Regions from separate parts of the Homo sapiens genome. Here region 1 is linked to region 2. The links are contacts of gene promoters, found by promoter capture Hi-C in blood cells and fetal thymus (Javierre and others, 2016). All regions are on one chromosome and are shown on one strand. The core of a region is centred on a gene start or on the middle of the fragment in contact, and the rest is flanking DNA. Distances in the headings are between cores, read along the strand shown. Region 1 has its middle 88 kb from the start of PMAIP1. Region 2 holds the start of CDH20 (cadherin 20).

Region 1 (6,387 bases), core at 3,792-6,291, 1.3 Mb before region 2:
CAACAAAACAAAACAACCCCCCCCCCCCCGCCCCAAAAGCAGGCAGGTCATAAAGGATGGATTGAAAATAGCCTGCTGACAATTCTTCCGTGAGAATTTCTGTGACTCTCTTTCTACGTCTCTTCCTTTGGATAAGTTTACTTATTTTTATACAGAACTAAAAGGAGTGTGATTGAATTACGCCACTCTTTGATTCAGCTGGCAGTGGCAGCACAGTGTAGTAACTGGCAAGGACTCTCAAGTTGTGCTACTCAAAACACATGATCCCTATATGCTCCCATTAATAAATTCTGGGAAAATCAAACATTTTTATGTCTTAGCATTGATTTGGAAACCATCTGTGGTGCATTATTTACAAGTGTTTATTTTTAATTAACTATTTTTGCCTTTTTTTTTTTTTTAAATTGGAAGAACCTCTTAATGACTTGAAATCCAGTTTGAGTCACCTCTTTAGTCATTGTTACATGTGGTAAGGGAGTGAGAAAGGCTCTGGATTCAAATGCCAGGTTGGAGTCTCAGCTCCACCACTTGTGTTCATTATTTGGCCTCTATGAACTTCGGTCTGCTTCTTTAAAAGGGGTAATAATGGTACTGTATTATAAGATTGTTGTGAGTACTGAATGAGATAATCCATGTAGGGCATTTATTATTATTATTATTTTGAGACAGGGTCTTGCTCTTTTGCCTAGGCTGGGGTGCAGTGGCATGATCACAGCTCACTGCAGCCTCAAATTCCCAGACTCAGGCGATCCTCTCATCTTAGTCTCCTGAGTAGCTGGGACTACAGGCAACTGCCACCATGCTTGGCTAATTTTTGTATTTTTTGTAGAGATGGGCTTTTGCCATGTTGTCCAGGCTGGTCTCAAATTCCTGGGCTCAAATGATCTGCCCACCTCAGCCTCCCAAAGTGTTGAGATTACAAGTGTGAGTCACTGCACCTGGCCAATGTAATGCATTTAGCGTGATTGTGACCACGTAAGTCATCATGGGCATGTTAGCTATTAAGATGATTTAAAAATGATCACATCTTAGTTCTTGCAATTTTACACTGAAATTACTATAAGTAAGCTTCTCCTCACGTGGAAGTCATTAGCTTTACCTGTAAATATGATTGCGGCATCTGCCTATGTTTGACTTTGTAAAGTTTGATTCTAGGTTAAGAGAGGATGACTCATGTCTAAGCAAGCAGTCTCCATTTGAGGCAAGGTTTTTTGTTTTTGTTTTTTTTTTGAGACAGAGTCTCGCCCTGTCACCCAGGCTGGAGTTCAATGGCATGGTCTCGGCTCACTGCAACCTCCGTCTCCCAGGTTCGAGCAATTCTCCTGCCTCAGCCTCCCGAGTAGCTGGGATTACAGGTGCCCGCCACCACGCCTGGCTAATTTTTGTATTTTTAGTAGAGATGGGGTTTCATCATGTTGGCCAGACTTGTCTCAAACTCCCGACCTTGTGATCTGCCCGCCTCACCCTCCCAAAGGGCTGGGATTACAGGCATGAGCCACCGCGTCTGGCCAAGGAAAGGTCTTGAGTGTGCTACACTTGCCTGTGTGAGACTCCTGGTACTCCCTTGCAGTAATGAGTAGATTCGCCCGCAGGTAAAACAAAACCGAATCATCAAATTTGATGTAGTAGATTTGTATTGAGTCAATGAAGCTAAGCTGGAATGATAGTTCCCTGAATTCCCTTCCCTGCAGAGTTTCCTGCATAGTTAGTGTGGTCCAGAAGAGACACTGATGTACGAGATTTGGAAGGCGGAAGAGAAGCAGCAGCATGTTGCTTTTATGCTCAGAAGGTGGGTGCAGGGCCCGGGACCTGTTCTGCTCACGTGTGTGATTGCACCTCTGTTGGCCGCCCTGGGGACATGGGCAGCAGCTGGCCTCACAGCTGCTCCAGCTTCTGTGCCCAGGGAGTGTGTTTACCTTTGTGAGGACGAGTACCAGCAGGTCACGTTCCTCGCTGAAGTTGGGGGCACTGAGAGACTGAGGTGGGATTCGGCCTGGCCACGTATGTTCCACCTTGTCCTTGTAGGCCATGGTTTCTCCTTGCTTTTTCCTACTCACGCCCATCTTTTCTTCTTTAATGACAGACCCATTCCCTCCAGGGCCTGGATACAGAAACAAAAGCCCCGTAAACTGCTTAGTCAACTCCCACAGTTCTGTGGGGTCAAATCACTATAATGAATCCCACTCTTATGAGTTCTGCTTCTTTGCTGGAACCCTGATTGACACCGGGTGTGATAGCATTTTAGCCTTCAGCCATTGGTACTGAGTCCTCTTGAGAAGAGCGTTGTGTGTGCACATGTGTCTTATCAGGTATTGGTAGGAATTTAAAACATAGAGATGCTCATAGGCCAAGCAAATATTGCTCAGTTCCATTAAATAATCCCTGGAGCAATTTCTGGTCCTATCATGAGGGTCAATAAATAGAATGTTGGAGTTTTTGTTTCTTCTTTTCCTTTATCATCCTCTCTTTACTTTTCCAAGTTGCCTCCCACCCCCACTTTTGCCCCAGGTCTGTATTTTAATTAATTAGTCAAAATTTTCATTGAGTGCCTACTGTATCCATGCTGTATATGTGGGAATGTATCAGGCATTGTGCTGGGTACTATGGATAGAGTAGAGAACAAAATGGAAATAGCTTAATGTTGGTCCTCTTGGAGATAGGTGTGAAACAAACAAGTCAACACAGGGATACGTAATTGTAATTTCCAAAAGAACTATGGAGGAAAAGTTACCTACAAACATATCTAAGTTACCTTCTTGACACTCAAGGTTCCTTGGTACTATAGCCTGAATGTTTATATTCCCTCCAAATTCATAGGTTGAAACCAAAACCAGAGTGACAGTATTTGGAGGTGGGGCCATTGGGTAATGATTACGTCATGGTGGCGGAGCCCTCATAAATGGGATTGGTGGCCTTATAAAAGGGACTCTAGAGAGCTCCCTTGCCCTTCTGCCATGTGAGGACACAGTGAGAAGATGCTATGACCAGGAAGCAGGATCTTAACTGACATCGAATCTGCCTTAATCATGGACTTTCCAACCTCTAGAACTGTGAGAAATAAATTTCTGTTTTTTGGTAAGACACCCAGGCTATGGTACTCTGTTAGAGCAGCTGGAACAGCCTAAGATAACTGGTCTTATACAATATGTAGGAAAGGAGAATGTATAAGAATGGCTACCAGGAAAGGTATCTGCACATCAACATTTTTCAGTGTTTAGCAGCCCACAAGGTTGCAGTCTATATGGTACAAACAAAGCCCTGGAACCTTATACTCCCCAGCACAGTTATCTTGGAAACTTCTATCAAACTGAACTATATGAATCATACATTTATTTTTGTTTGACAATTCAGAGAATGTCTTCATATCTTTTCCTCCATTAGCGTTAGGTGATCATGTGAGCAACCCATTTCTCATAGGGCTAATTTATAAGTCTTGATTTATGTTATGCTAGATAACAAGTTTTAATTATAAATAGTAATAGAAAAAGCAGGTCTTTAATTTTGAACTGTCACATGACTTAGGTCACCATCCTCAGCTTTGTGGTAATCTACCATGCCCATCACCTTGTAAGGGATCGTAAGAAATTCATTCCCAACCTTGGTGCTCTTCACTTTCTCATTTTGTCCAAGCTTCTCAAGTTGTATTTTTTGTTCTGTAAATAATTTTCGTCAATATATTTTCTTAAAAAATATAAGGCCATTAAAAAAAAGACAAAGCAACACTCTAAACACAGCAATTATTTTTCTATCTTCAAATTAATTTCCAGTCGTTTTCACACAGGTACATATTTCTTACATAAATTAAGTAATTTGCAGTCTAGCTGAAGAAACATACAGGGAGAAGTTACTGCTGCTGTGCAGTAGATGGCGCCAGACACCAGGTTACTAATCAGCCTGTATTTAAATTAAACGTCTTTAAAATTGCTGAATAAATTTCATAAGTTTGATAACATCTTACTCATTTTAGTTGAGGAACATCAAATTGGCTTAGATTACATTTTTTGTCCAATTGTCATATAGTCCAAAGTTTAACATTTTAAAATGTCATATTGTGAAAAAGTGCTATTTATTTTGGGGAGAATTTTTAAGGGTTTTTTTAAAATTACACTTGTAGAAATTCTATAAATAAAAGTATGCTTAGAGGCAATTATTTTATGTGCTAAAAATTACACATTTATAGTGTTTAAAATACTTTTTGAATTATAGTAGTAAAAAATTGCCTGTTAGGCTGGGCACAGTGGATCATGCCTGTAATCCTAGCACTTCGGGAAGCTGAGGTGGGAGGATCGCTTGAACATAGGAGCCTGCAGTGAGCTATGGTTGTGCCACTGCAATCTAGCTTGGGCCACAGAAAAATACCCCATCTCAAAAAACAAAACAAAAAAATGCCTGTAATCTGTGTGTTGGTGAGGCTGATTTTACTAGCTCTTAAAAAAGGTTTTGTCTTTTATCACTATTCATCTTTTAATACTATTCTCAGGGAGTATTGTGTGTAATGGAGGTGTTGTAGGCAGATGAAATAAGGTGCTGACTTACTTTGTAGGTGGTTAATAGTTTCTTTTTGTAGCAACAACTCAGAATGGGGAGTTTTTAGGTGAATGTCAAGCTTTGGTAATTGAACAGAACCAATCCAGTAATTATTTCAAGTTAGCATTTTAGCCCATCAATGTAAATAATGCTGGATTAGCAACATGTTCCTGTTTTTTACATAATGGAACAGTGTTTCTGTTAGGTATGAATATCCTTGGAAAGTGATATTTTGCACATCTTTAAAAATGCGTGGCTTTATGCGTGAGCTTAGTTCTTAGCTTTATACACACAATATACATATTTCTATTTTGGGTAAAGTTAAAATAACCAAAATAATTAATTATTCTGGCCTTTTTATGTGGCCATTTGACTCTTTTAAGTGTGTTAAAATATTTGCTTTACAAGTAGCTGGTCTTTGCTTATGTTTAGATAAGTACCTGTGTTATTGCCCTGTTCATTTAGTAATCTAAAATTCTAAGCCAGGGGAGCCATCACCAGGTGATACGGTTTGGCTCGGTGTGCCCACCCAAATCTCATCTTGAATTATAATCCCCACATGTCAAAGGAGGGGCCTGGTGGGAGAGATGATTGAAAAATGGGGTTGGATTTCTCCCTTGCTGTTCTCATGATAGTGAGTGAATTCTCACAAGCGTTGATGGTGCTTCCCCCTTCGTGTACACTCTCTCTCTCCTGCTGCCATGTAAGGTGTGCCTTGCCTCCCATTCCATCATCACTGTAAGTTTCCTGAGGCCTCCCCAGCCATATGGGACTGTGAGTCAACTAAACCTTCTTTTTATAAATTACCCAGTCTCAGGTAGTTTTTTTATAGTAGTGCAGAAATGGACTAATACACCAGGGGTCTTATAGTTAGTTGTTTCTTAGTAGATATTCTCATTTATATCATGTGGGGATTCACTTTGGTACATAATTAAATTTCCAAGAAAACTGAAGCTTTTTTCTTAGCCAAATATATAAACTTAAAAAAATTTCTATTACTTGGAAATTTCTTAGACATCTTCTTCCAAATTACACTAAACATTTGACGATCTCTTTCTTAATGAGATGTTTTACTTTATAGTGCTAGTCATTATTTTATTTTTTGCTGCTTGCTTCTAAATGGAATATTCCTATGGAGTGGCTGTAATTCATCGTTTCTTGCATTTTATCATTTAGATAACCTAAATACAAAAAAATTATCAACCACTGTAGCATGGATATAGATATCAGAATGGATGCTAGCTGAAAACACCTGCCTGATCATACCAGCATCTCCTAGTTAAATATTGGCACCTCCATTTACTTCCTCTAGTCTGACTCTCTGTCCAACAAATGGCTTTCTGATGACTAATTTGGATCGCAGGTACTTTGATTGGTGGAAGAATATGCTCTGGAGATGGAATATAAATATTCTGGTTACCACTGTAAAGGTGCATCCCCCTTCACTGTAAATAAATGAGTTGGCATCCAATCTATTGGTGACATGAGAGTTTAGTAGCTGATCTGAAAAGCTGAGGATCAGCTACATTATGGCCAACCCTCCAAGCTGGGAGGCTCTTACAGAGAAACCAGCCCACCCTTCTCTGCTTGTCTTGTCCTGCTGTATCTTTCACATCTCTCCCTTTCACTCCAATGCTATCATCAGCAGAGAGTGAGAACATCTAAACAATGTTTTAATGTGGTCTCAACATTGACCACAAAAAAAAAAAAAAAGCCATTTGGGTTTTGGATAAGAGCCCAAGTTTTAAATCATTAAACTTCTCCATTTCAAAGTGAAGAAGTTTAATGATTTAGTCTCAGACTAGCATGATTGCTGATAGTATGAACTCTGCAATTAAACTTTGTGGATTCAAATATTAG
Region 2 (6,371 bases), core at 2,960-5,459:
TTATCAGCCAGAGGTCAAGGCTGAAATTATTATATTTGTTTCGGAATCTACTTTTGAATAACAATAATATCGTTATATGGTGTTTTTAAATTTCCAGACACCTACCAACTATTTCATTTATTCCTGATAGCCCAGTAGAGTCAATGGAACACATTTTCAGAAGTGTGCTAGGACTGGTGTTGGTGCTGAGTGCTTCCCATTCAGCTAAATTTGGGGACACAAAAATTATTAAGACAAAGTTACTGACTTCAGTTTGCTTTTGATTACTGGTAGAAACAACACATTGCGTTGTAACAATTTATTTACACATCTTGGATGTCCTAAGGGAGCACGAAGGAGGGAATTGTTATTTCCACTGGAAAAAGAAGTGTGTGTGTGCATGGCAGGGCTGAGGGAGGGAAGGCAGAGGGAGATGTCAAACACAGTTTCACTGAGAAGGTGACTTTGTTCCTGGATTAAAGTCCCTGTTCTATCCCTTCCTAGGAGAAGCTCTGAATGCTACCGAATCTCTGTGAGCTTGAGATTCCTCATCAATTAAATATAGATAATAATACTGAATTCATAGGGTTGTCAGAAGGATGGAATGAGAAAGCATATGGGAGAGCAATTTGCAAGTAGCAAAGCACTCAATAAAGAGTGTATTATTCTTTCCACTTTGCACACTCACTAACTTGGTTCACTCCAAAGGAGAATGGCTTATCCAAGAGGGCCCACACCTGCAACAAGGAGCCAGTGTCCCCGCTCAGACTCCAGTGGTCTTCCCCTGACTCTGCCCACTGAGACTCTTGAGGAAATATAGAAAGCACTCATCCTGATAACATTTTATGAGCTCTAAAATCATGTTAACATATTCATATAAATACATATTCTAACATCTAAAGACATTTCTGTGAAATGCTGCTTCTAAATCCTAAGTGGATTCTCTCTGTAAAAGGAAGAACTAACAGAGCATTGTAAGGGAGGAATCATGATTGGGAAAATCATCAGTATTTAATATGAGAATAAAACAGTCATACACTTTTTTAACATAAAAAGTTTTAAACTACCCAAAGTTTCAGAGAATAAAATATGGCAGATCCTCAACGTTTAAAAGGGATTTAACTGTGGATTTGAACAGAAAACATTTGAATAGACATGTGCCTTGCATTTAGTGGGTACTCAACAACTGTTGAATTCAAAGATTTAACCTGATCATTCTTATCCCTAAAATTATAATACTCAAATTTCTCCCTTTATATAATATCTATAAATTTTGCTTTAATCTAATATATTATAGTCCATTTTCAGTACTTGAAAGATAAAATGTTATTTAAATCTGGTAGTCTCACCCATGTTTAAAAAAACAGGAAAAATAAAATTGCTCTTACCTTATTAATAATAGGCCTGGAAAATCTTAAGTAAAAAAACTGCACACTGCGTACCAATGTATTGGGAGATGGAGACATTTGATATCCATGGGAGATTCACAAATAGTTGTGTTTACTGAATATATCAATTTGTATTAGTTGAAGTTCTCCAAAGAAACAGAACCAACTAAAGGTAGGTAGGTAGGCAGGTAGGTAGGTAGATGGGTAGATATAGTATAAGGAATTGACTCATGCAATTAGGGAGGCTGGCAAATCCATAATCTGCAGAGATGATGTCTGAGTTTGAAGGCCATCAGGCCAGAAAATTCTTCCCATCAGGCCAGAAAATTTTACCATCGTAGAAGATAAGACATTTCTCATCCCAAAGGCTTTTCATAAGACCTATAAAAATATGCAAATATCTAGTCCTAAAAACTAGACACAAGCTCTGTGCAGAGAAACAGCACTTTATAATGTGCTGTTTCCTTTCAGTAAATGGAATATAATTTTGGTAAAAAAAAGTTTTCAAACACACGTTTGTAGAAGGTAAAAGAAGACATCTTTCATCCCAAAGACTTCTCATAAGAACCTATAAAAACATGAGAAAAGCCAGCCCTTATCTGAGGGTAGATCAACCTTTTGGTCTATTCAGGCCTTCAACTGATTGGATGAGGCCCACCCACATTACGGAAGGCAATCTCTCTCCCTCATCCAGTCTGCCAATTTAGATGCTAATCTTATCCAAAAAACACTCTCACAAAAACTTCCACGATAATGTTCCACCAGATATCTGAGTACCTTATGGCTCAGTTAAGTTGACCCATAAAATTAACCATCACACTATCCAAAAAAAAAAAAAAAGACTCATGATTTTCTCTAAATTTTGTGTAAGAAATTGATCACCAAAAACAAGTCACTTCAACAAAACACCAAGAAACTGATTTTCTTTTTAGACAAGAAGACAGTTTAAGCTGCTAGAGACCGGAAGGCCCTGGACCACTAATCAGAGTCCTTTGGGTCAAAGTTGATCTCCCCACTTATGAGCTATATGACCTGGACACACTACAGTTGATCCTTGAACAACAAAAGTTTGAACTCTATGAGTCCACTTAGACATGGATTTTCTCCCATCTGTCATCCCTGACAGGGCAAGACCAAGCCTCCCTCTTCCTCCTTCTCCTTCACCTGCTCAACATGAAGCCAACAAGGATGAAGACCTTTATGATGATCCACTTCCACTTAATGAATAGTAAATACATTTCATTTTCCTTATTATTTCCTTAGTATCATTTTCTTTCCTCCAGACTATTGTTAAGAATACAGCATATAAAATGTATAGCATATAAAATATGTGTTAGTCGACTGCTTATGTTATCCATAAAGTTTCCAGACAACAGTAGGCTATTAGTAGTTAAGTTTTTGGAGTGAAAAGTTATATGCGGATTTTTGACTACACGAGGGTCAGTGCTCCTAACCCCCATGTTGTTCAAGGGTCAACTGCCCTTACTTTATTGAGCCACATCTGCATCATCTATTAAAATAGAGAAATAATAGTCTAGACTGAATAGAGTTGTTGGAAAAATGAAATGAAATAACATGTGTAACACATGTCTGTCACATAACAAGTTCTCCATAAACATTAGCTATTCTGCTATTAATAATCATTGTTATAACTATGAGTTCTAATTCTAGGCCTGCTGAAAGCTATTAAAATATGGCATGACTGCCTTAACTGGGATACTATTTCTATTGTCACACACTTGGGAATCTTATTGGATGTTTATATATATCATTTTATCAGTTCTTTACACACATTGATCATTTGGCCACAGAGCAGTTGTACAAATAGATTATTTAGTAACCTATCAATTCAATCAAAATAACTTGCTCTATTACAATCAGTGATGGGGGAGGAAATCCTCCAAGCACCTTGCTTGAAGAGAAATGTAGAAACCACATCGGGCAAAAAGTCCCCCTCCAGCCACTGTGAAACCCAAGTTGTCGTCAGTAACTTGACATTCTAGGGTAGGAATCAGGACAGGAGAGAGGTGATCTCTCCTTTTGACCTTGTGTATTCTGACCTCAGAAATAAGAGCTGGAATTGCCTTCTGGAATGGGCCTGTCACAGTATTGTGTGATTTGGGGGACCCCCTTCATCTGGGAGAGAAGGGTGGTCTCAGCTTCCACCTCAGAAATTTCTGACCCTTAATATACCTCCACCCCATCTCTAGTTAAAGGCTTAAAACTCTAAGATTTTCCTATGAGGACAAAAAGAAAAGGAAATCTGAGCATTTGAAGAAATTCTTAAAAGTCGATGAGTGAGGTTTCCCTCACACATGCCATCTTCCCCTACCTCTCCTCTTGAAAACAATGTCTTTTGCACCCTCAAGGTCAAGGTTAAACCCGAGTTGGTACTCATTTCCTTTCTGATTTTATTTGCCTTATCCTGTTCTACTCCTCAATTGCCTCTTCCAGAATCTGTGCAAAATAATTACCTCAACTTCAGGGGAAAGTTTAGATGTAAATACCCCCGCCCCCCTCCCCACGTCCACACATCCCCTTTCTTCTCTCTCCCTCTTAACATTTCCTTACGCTCTCAGCCAATAGAGGAGTTGAAACATTTAAATGCGGTATCTAAACTGCATTTAAAGAATTAACCCATTTTGCCCCTCACTGGTCTAAACCACAGGGTGCCAACCGGACGTTAATTGCTTTCATCTGGTGGGGTTCCAGACAGCTCCTCAGAAGGAAGGAGCGCACATTCCTGGCACCAATTGGCTAATTCAATTTACTTCAGCGGCATTAGCCTCTGTCAGAATATTCATGAGCAGGGGAATGAGGACCCGCGGTACAGGCAGGCAGCAGCCACTCCTGCTAGGGAAGGCGCGAGGGAGGGGAAGCGGACCGCGCGCCACGCTCGGGGGACGGTGACCGCGACCAGGGGGCTCTTCTCACTGGACAGGCCGAACGCGGTGGCCGCGGGAGGGCAGGGCAGGGCATCGGCGGGGTTGGTGCACTTGGCAGTACCCCCCAACTCCTGGCAACCGCACGGAGACTTTGCGAAACATCCGAAGGCAGAAAAGCTGTGACACTTCTGACAGAGGGGGTAGGGGGGTGGGGGGCGGGGACAGCGCCGCGAGCAGGGGTGAAGAGACCCAGCGGGGCACCAGCCGCCCAGTGGGGGAGGCAGCTACGTGAGCAGAACGCCCGCCCTGGAGCAGTTAGGACCGAAGGTCTCCGGAGAGTCGCCGGCGGTGCCAGGTAACGCAGAGGGCTCGGGTCGGGCCCCGCTTCTGGGGCTTGGGACTCCGGGCGCGCGGAGCCAGCCCTCTGGGGCGAAATCCCCGGGCGGCGTGCGCGGTCCCTCTCCGCGCTGTGCTCTCCCAGCAACTCCCTGCCACCTCGACGAGCCTACCGGCCGCTCCGAGTTCGACTTCCTCGGACTTAGTGGGAGAAGGGGTTGGAAATGGGCTGCCGGGACTGGGGGAGCTGCTCTCTGGAAGCAGGGAAGCTGGGGCGCACCGGGGCAGGTGGAGGACGTGGCGCGCTGGGAGCGGGGACTGCGCGCGCCTGGGGATGGTGACTGGGGATCCAGGAGCGCGGCTTGTGGGGGCGCTTGGCACGGCTTCACCCTCGCTGGCCCCGCAGGCGGTGGCGCCTCCCTCCGCCTGCAGAGGGGACAGGGTGGCCGCGTCCCTCGCACAGAGATGTGCGCCGGGAAGGGGACCAGAGAGCCAGGCTCCGGGGAGGCGCAGGCACCTACGGGGCCGATCCCTGGTCCGTGCCTCGCGCCGCGCCCCCGCCGGAGCTCGGCTGTGGGAGGAGAATGTGGTGGGTACTCGAGTCCCCGCCACCTGCCGGACTTCGCCAACTCCCCGGATTTCCTGTCCTCGGGCCCTGACACTCCCAAGGAAAGCTCTGAATTGCGCTCGCTGTTTGGTTTTTGCTTGTTGTAGTTACTCTGGGGGAAGAGCCGGGGGCAAGGGGGTCAAATGGGGCTAAAGTTTCAGATTTGCAAAGAGAACGTTACCGAGGACTCTCAACGTGTCCTTAGCAATCGGAGAGACTGCAGCAGCCTTTGCCTAGCTATCCGCCTCTGGGGCAGCAGTGGGGGCTGAAATCTGGAAGGCAGCCCGGAGGCAGCGTCAGAGCCTTGTTTTGTTTTGTTTGTTTCTGCCGAGACCAGGCTGGAAGTGAGAGGGGATAGTACCAGACAATCGGGGAGTTGGTCGCCTGGTAGATTCAGAGTTTACTATGTTGTTGCTATTATTATTAATGCTCTTGTTATTGGCACGAGCACCAGGAACAATTTTTTTTCTGATTGTTATAAATCGCCTGCAAATTGAACCTGCAGCCGCCTCCCCTCAAATGAAATGTCCCCGGACCTCCTCCAGTCTCTGATGTGTGTCTTTCCACCAAAGGAAATTACCCACTCAGAGCTGTGGTGCTGTCAGGGACTCAGCTAAGGAATTGGATCTACCTAAGAACAACAAAAAGTTGAAACTAGGATGAGTTTGAACCCACGCTTATAGATGAGTATTATGTTCCTATCTGCTCACCTTCCTCAGCCGCCTCTGGCTGGGGAACCCTGAAGGCATAGCCATCTTGAGAGTTGACCCAGCGTTTCCCTTTCATTTATTTATATAACCTGGGAAAATCTTTTCCCTTTAGTGTCACCCTTGCAGTCTCGTTGGACATGCTGAAAGGATTCAGGTCCTGACACTGGAGGAATCCGTAAGGGCACCTGTGGTTGCCAACTCTTGGCTTGACCCTGTTCAGATGTTGCCCAGGGTGCAGGCTTGGGCAGCTGATGCAGCAGAAAGCTGGGCGAGGGTGTGGGAGAACAGTATGGCAGAGTTAAGCTGAGTGCAGGAGATGAGGTCAAGCCTCCACGCTGGCCACATCCCTTCCTGCCAGAGAAAAAAGAGACAAATGAAGAGCAGGAGGGAAGTGTTATAAATTGGAACCGAGCTCTTAGAGTCTACTTAGGCTGTGAACCAAGCTCTCAGCATCTACTGAGGCTCT

The links. The method cuts DNA at HindIII sites, captures the fragments that hold promoters and counts their contacts. A CHiCAGO score of 5 or more calls a contact.
Region 1: a fragment that was not itself captured here is called in contact with the fragment with the promoter of CDH20 in region 2 in 1 of 17 cell types (M2 macrophages); the score reaches 5.2 in M2 macrophages.

What each region holds. Positions count from the first base shown.
Region 1 is chr18:59,984,439-59,990,825 of GRCh38, forward strand. No RefSeq gene overlaps it. Among named protein-coding and RNA genes, the nearest start is that of PMAIP1, 88 kb to the left of the region's middle. The HindIII fragment of the contact is 875 bases long and covers 4,605-5,479 here.
Region 2 is chr18:61,329,221-61,335,591 of GRCh38, forward strand. It overlaps CDH20 (cadherin 20), which reads left to right and starts at 4,210. Exons shown (of 12, transcript NM_031891.4): 1 at 4,210-4,607. The HindIII fragment of the contact is 13,774 bases long and covers 1-6,371 here.